2 separate regions of the Homo sapiens genome follow, and region 2 is linked to region 1. The links are contacts of gene promoters, found by promoter capture Hi-C in human tissues and cell types (Jung and others, 2019). All regions are on one chromosome and are shown on one strand. Each heading gives the region's core, a stretch centred on a gene start or on the middle of the fragment in contact. The rest is flanking DNA. Distances are from core to core; before and after follow the strand shown. Region 1 holds the start of RPL10L (ribosomal protein L10 like). Region 2 overlaps MDGA2 (MAM domain containing glycosylphosphatidylinositol anchor 2).

Region 1 (2,842 bases), core at 262-2,761:
CTCCTAGGCTTGTAAGCTTGGTGAGAGCAACATGGTATTAGCTACTTTATCTCAATATGTTAAACAGGAACTAGTTGAGAAAAAGGGGAAAGAAGAAATGAAGGAAGAAAAGGGAAGTGAGAAAGCTTTCTTAAAGGTCAGAAAGTTTTCTACATTGGGAGATTTAATTGTTTTATCTTTAGTATTTTGTAAAAATCCACTCACTTTAAGGGCAGGAGTTATTTTTCTCCCTTAAAACAAAGAGTATTGACAGAATATATTCACATTGGGGGGATTTTGTTCCATGATGTAATGGATTTGTGAAACAACATTAAAACAAAAAAGAAAACTAGAAAAATGCAAGTAGGGTTTGTAAACTATTAATTTCTTTTCCTCTCTCTTCTTCCTCCTTTCCTACACTCTGATCCCTGTCATAATATTTTTACAAACTCTGAGAAGAAAAAAAGTTTAAATTTATTCTCAGGGGCAAAAGATTACTAAAACACAAACTGTTACTCTTTTATATAGTTTCAGCAGCTTTAACATTTGAAAATGCAAATAGCCTTAAGTTAAAAAAAATCTAGTTGGTGTTTCAATTTTGTATATATCATTTTGATAATAAAATCATTTCTTTAGGCCAAATAAAGAAAAAACAAAGTTTCATGTTTATAAAACAATTGCCAAGCTACAGATACAACAGATATCTTCTCTTTATCCCTCTCTCTTCTCTTCCTCTCATCTCTTCCTGAGTCTCATCAAAGCACTCATGCCAAGAAACCACTTTATCCAGGGAAGGTGGCCACATAACCCAAGAAACAGCAATTGATCTACAAATGCTGACAGTGAGATACAAGCTCTGGAAAATGAACTGACCAAACTGGAAACAGCATGTTGAATAACTGGAAGGATTTTTCCTCTCAAATTCTAGGATTTCTTTTTTTCTTTTTCTTTAGACAGGGTCTCCCTCTGTCACTCAAGCTGGAGTGCAGTGGTGCTATCTCAGCTCACTGCAGTTTCTGCCTGCAGGGCCCAGGCGATCCTCCCACCTCAGCCTCCTGAGTAGCTGGGACTACAAGCATGTGCCACCATGCCCAGCTATTTGATATATATATATTTTTTTTTTTGTAGAGACAGCATTTCACTATATTGCCCAGGCTGGCCTCGAACTCCTGAGCTCAAGAGATTCTCCTGCCTGGAAATAACCTCTTTTATACTTAAAGCAAAGCTGAAAGCAAGAGTTCCTAGCCCAAGATGGCTAGCAGAAAGGAAGCAGCAGCTGTGCAGTTGGGGCGGGGCCCAATTCCTTCCCTGGCCGCCAGGGGGAGTCTACCCACAGCTGACTCTGCTCACCTTAAGCGCGCCACTTGGCGCAGGCGCTGAGGCGCCAGACGTCCCTGCGTCTCTGGTTGGGACGTCCTGAAAGAGAGTCGTCACATCCTCCTCAGGACTCTATGGTTCCGGCCTCAGGACTCTATGGTTCCCGCGAGGGACGAGGGGCAACGTATATAAATGCGCGCAGGCGTAGTTAAGAGAGCGCATTTTGACTTCGAGGCACCGCCGACGTTACTGTGTCGCCATGGGGCGCCGTCCAGCTCGCTGTTACCGGTATTGTAAGAACAAGCCGTACCCAAAATCTCGTTTCTGCCGAGGGGTTCCTGATGCCAAGATCCGCATCTTTGACCTGGGTAGAAAGAAGGCAAAAGTGGATGAGTTCCCACTCGGTGGCCACATGGTGTCTGATGAATATGAGCAGCTGTCTTCTGAAGCCCTGGAGGCCGCCCGTATTTGTGCCAACAAATACATGGTGAAAAGTTGTGGCAGAGATGGCTTTCACATGCGAGTGCGGCTCCATCCCTTCCATGTCATCCGCATCAACAAGATGTTGTCCTGTGCTGGGGCTGACAGGCTCCAGACAGGTATGCGAGGTGCCTTTGGAAAACCCCAGGGTACTGTAGCCCGGGTCCACATTGGTCAAGTCATCATGTCCATCCGCACCAAGCTTCAGAACGAGGAGCATGTGATTGAAGCCTTGCGCAGGGCCAAGTTCAAGTTCCCTGGACGCCAGAAGATTCATATCTCCAAGAAGTGGGGCTTCACGAAGTTTAATGCTGACGAATTTGAAGACATGGTGGCCAAGAAGTGCCTCATCCCTGATGGTTGTGGAGTCAAGTACGTTCCCAGTCATGGCCCCTTGGACAAGTGGCGGGTTCTGCACTCATGAAGGTTTTGGCAGTACTGTCTCCTTGGGCCATGCTGGTCTGACTTATGCTTACTAATAAATTCTGTTTACTGGCAAAAAATAACTCCTTATTAAGTTTTAATATTTTTTAAATATCCAATGTTTTAGAATATAGACTACTAGAGAATTTTTTTCTATTTATTCAGTTTTAATGGCAAATGTTACCTTCCTTGCTTCAGTAAAACTATACAATTTATAGAGAAAGCTGTTTTAAGCAAACACTTTAAATTTAGGAGAGTATAGAGCAATATGTTGAAAGTTTTGTTTGTAGTAAAGTCATAAGTTATGCAGCTATCATTCCTTGAATAAAAAATAGATTTGAGTGAAAAAATTTGTTTATAGAATATAAACTAAACAGTAGCGATGAAAATAATAGTAGGCATTAGTGATATTTCACCCACAGCCTCTTTGGAAGTAATTTATTTCTAAACTTGGTTGCCTTATGTTTTTCTATAAATTTCTGTACATTGTTTTTAGAATTACCTTACACGTCTGATTATCAGCCTTAGGACAATTGAGTATCACTCTGAAAGGCTTTTCCAGACGAACTTTACATTGTCTCACAGTCAAGAGATAACAGTCTAATCTTTTTTTCATCATAGAAAGGTCATAGGTGACAACAGA
Region 2 (2,789 bases), core at 156-2,655, 400 kb before region 1:
TAAAGGATGTATGTTTGTGAGAAGGTTTGAGAGAACAAAATGGTTTGAGATTAGTTGTAGCTGAAGGGATGGTGAAACATCCTCATGTTTCTGGTGAGCAATTAGAAAATCAGTTCTGATGATCAGGAAAAGGTCAGAACTAAAACATAGACTTCACAAGTAATTGTATTAATTTGAAACAGATGGGCTCACCCAAGAAGAGAATAAGAAGCAAAGCTATTACTGTCCAAGGAGATGATAAAAAAAGAAGAAACTGTGAAGCAAATGAGAATGACTGATCAATGGAAATCAAGGAAAATAAGCTCTCTAATTTGAGTAGAAAAAAAGAATATCCATGCAGTGGAAAGCTTTTTGTATTTAGAGCATCTTCACAGCCTTCAGTACTTCTTCACCGGCATGAAAATAAATGTGAATGATTGTATTTGTCCCAGAAACCATAATATTGATGCATAAATTTTGATAATGGAAGTGAGCTCTTATTTTCATTTAAGTGAAAGGATTGAATATGGAAAGAGTGAGGGAGTGTGACAGAGACCGACAGAATGAGACAGAGGATTAAGAGGAAGAGAGGAAAGGAGAGGGGAAAATGGGAAGGTCAAGATAAGAGGTCATCAGAGTTTAAATAGAGTATTTTGGTATGAAGAACATCCATCCTCAGATTATGCGGCATCTTCTTAAACAAGCCACAGGTAGCATTATAGACACTCATAGAAGGTGACAATTATATGAATCCTCTTTTCAAGAAGACCATTTAAAGGAGTGAAAGGGATTATTTAAAACATCGTTAGTTGCAAGTTGTTTTGAGAAGCATAAGTTATATCAATATTTTACTAGTTATATTTTGAGGGACATAAATATAAAAATGGAGAGTATTCTATTATTTCCTGTAATTGTTCAGTAAACATTAAACATGTTTTTCTATTAGAATTTTTCACATAAAATTGAATCTGTATTACTATGGAAAGAACATTGGATTTATAATTTCCCTCCAATTATCAACTGAAAATACTCCAATATTTTCCCCAAATATCAGAACAAAGGTTTGACTTTACAACTTATTATTTAACAGTGCTTAATTAGCTTTTGTCTAATTACTGTCCCATGTGTTTGGGACTTTCTTCATTTGATAATATTAAATACTTTTTCAAATTCTCAGGTGATAGGAAAGCAAGAGCAGATCAAAGAGAAATGAGAGAGTATACCCAATATATACTTCCTGTGCCCTTCTTTCTTTTCTAATGCAAGCAATGGGAACATAGAAACTATTTGAATTTTAAACGACTGGATATAAAATTCTCCAATCCAATGAGGGCTGAAAATAATTTTTAGCTTCAAAATTTGCATTTAAAATGATAACAGTGAGTAATGATGTATTAGAGTTAAAGAAACACTTGTGACAGATATCTCCATTCGCTGATAAAGAATAAATGCTTCCACCAGATTTATAGTTAACAATGGAATGTACATTACAGCATATTATTTTAAGGCTATAATACCAAGACCAATCCTGAAGTTTTTTATTAGAGGAGAAGATAGAGGTATAGGAAATGGTATGTTCACTACTAATGTAGTTATGATCACACTTCAGATTTTTATGGTCACAGATGACACTACTAACCTACCATTCACAATTGGCAAAAAGAAAATTAAATAGCAGTATTTATGATGATTGGATCCACAGGCTAACAGTTTCATCACCATTTTCTTCTATGTGGTAGTGAAAGCTCTAGAACTCTAGACCTCTTAGCAACAGAGAGAACAGTTATTAAAGTGATTTAATTTGTATGTGGTGTGTTTAAGTTTCATTTTACAGTTGGAATGTCTTAAAGCTCTTTCTTTCAAGGGTTCCAAATAGCTAGAACTATGATTAGTGCAAAGAACTTCTCCCCTCAAATCTGCTTGCCAATAAATATCTTTTCAGTTTTAAAAGAACCTAATTTTCATAATCTTTTGATTATTTTTCATTCAACATTGTTAGATATCAGTGAGGTTTGGAAAAGGGATGAGAAAAATTTAGAAAAACTTGAATTTGGGTTTTGATGGTGCCTTTATGGAACATGTGGTGTGTTCTAAATATCTATTCTTAATTTAAAAAGAAAATAAAAGATTACTGGGACAGGTCTCCACATATTTGTTTCATAAAACAATTTTAAAAGATAACCTACATGTCTTAATTATTAGCACGGATTTAAAATACTGAGGGCTTATTGATGACCTAATGCCTTTCATTTTATAGAGAAGGAAATAGACCCCAGAAGCATATATACTGTGTTCACTTCCACCTGACTTGACCTTGAAATCTCAGATTTCAAATCCAGTATGAAAGCTTGCAGCATGCCTTAAAATCTTAGATTAAATGAATATTTCCCTTTATTATCTCAGGCATTTCAAATATTCAGTCATATCCCTTTGACAAAGGCCTTGCAAGAAATGGTCATTGTTGACAGGTGTTGCAATATTCTAGAAGTGATTCAGGTAACATTCTAGTTGGATCATGTGATGACTTATTCTGTTGATCATGGGGCACAAGATTATCAGAGCCATATTCCAAGGATGCCACTCCAAAAAGTGTTAGGATGTTAGAGTCTCCTTGCCAGTCCCATATCCCGCTCCCAAAAGTTGGGAGAGATCTTACTTATTCTCACCAATGCAAGTATCTTTAATAGTATTTATTTCACCATGGAAGACCATATTCAACATCATGCTACATTAAAATTTCTTTAGTTCAGATCAAGATGATACTTGCCTTCTCCTAGCTGCCTGAAAACAGTGGACCCATGGTTTGGGTT

What was found. The method cuts DNA at HindIII sites, captures the fragments that hold promoters and counts their contacts. A contact is called where the count stands out against the background at its distance.
Region 2: a fragment that was not itself captured here is called in contact with the fragment with the promoter of RPL10L in region 1 in 2 of the 25 tissues and cell types used here (dorsolateral prefrontal cortex and spleen).

What each region holds. Positions count from the first base shown.
Region 1 is chr14:46,650,450-46,653,291 of GRCh38, reverse strand. It overlaps RPL10L (ribosomal protein L10 like), which reads left to right and starts at 1,511. Exons shown (of 1, transcript NM_080746.3): 1 at 1,511-2,282. The coding sequence starts at 1,556. The coding sequence ends at 2,200. All of the region lies in intron 3 of LOC105370481 (a long non-coding RNA gene), which reads left to right. The HindIII fragment of the contact is 6,030 bases long and covers 1-2,842 here.
Region 2 is chr14:47,050,670-47,053,458 of GRCh38, reverse strand. The region is part of intron 7 of MDGA2 (MAM domain containing glycosylphosphatidylinositol anchor 2); the gene reads left to right. Among named protein-coding and RNA genes, the nearest start is that of RPL10L, 400 kb to the right of the region's middle. The HindIII fragment of the contact is 3,925 bases long and covers 1-2,789 here.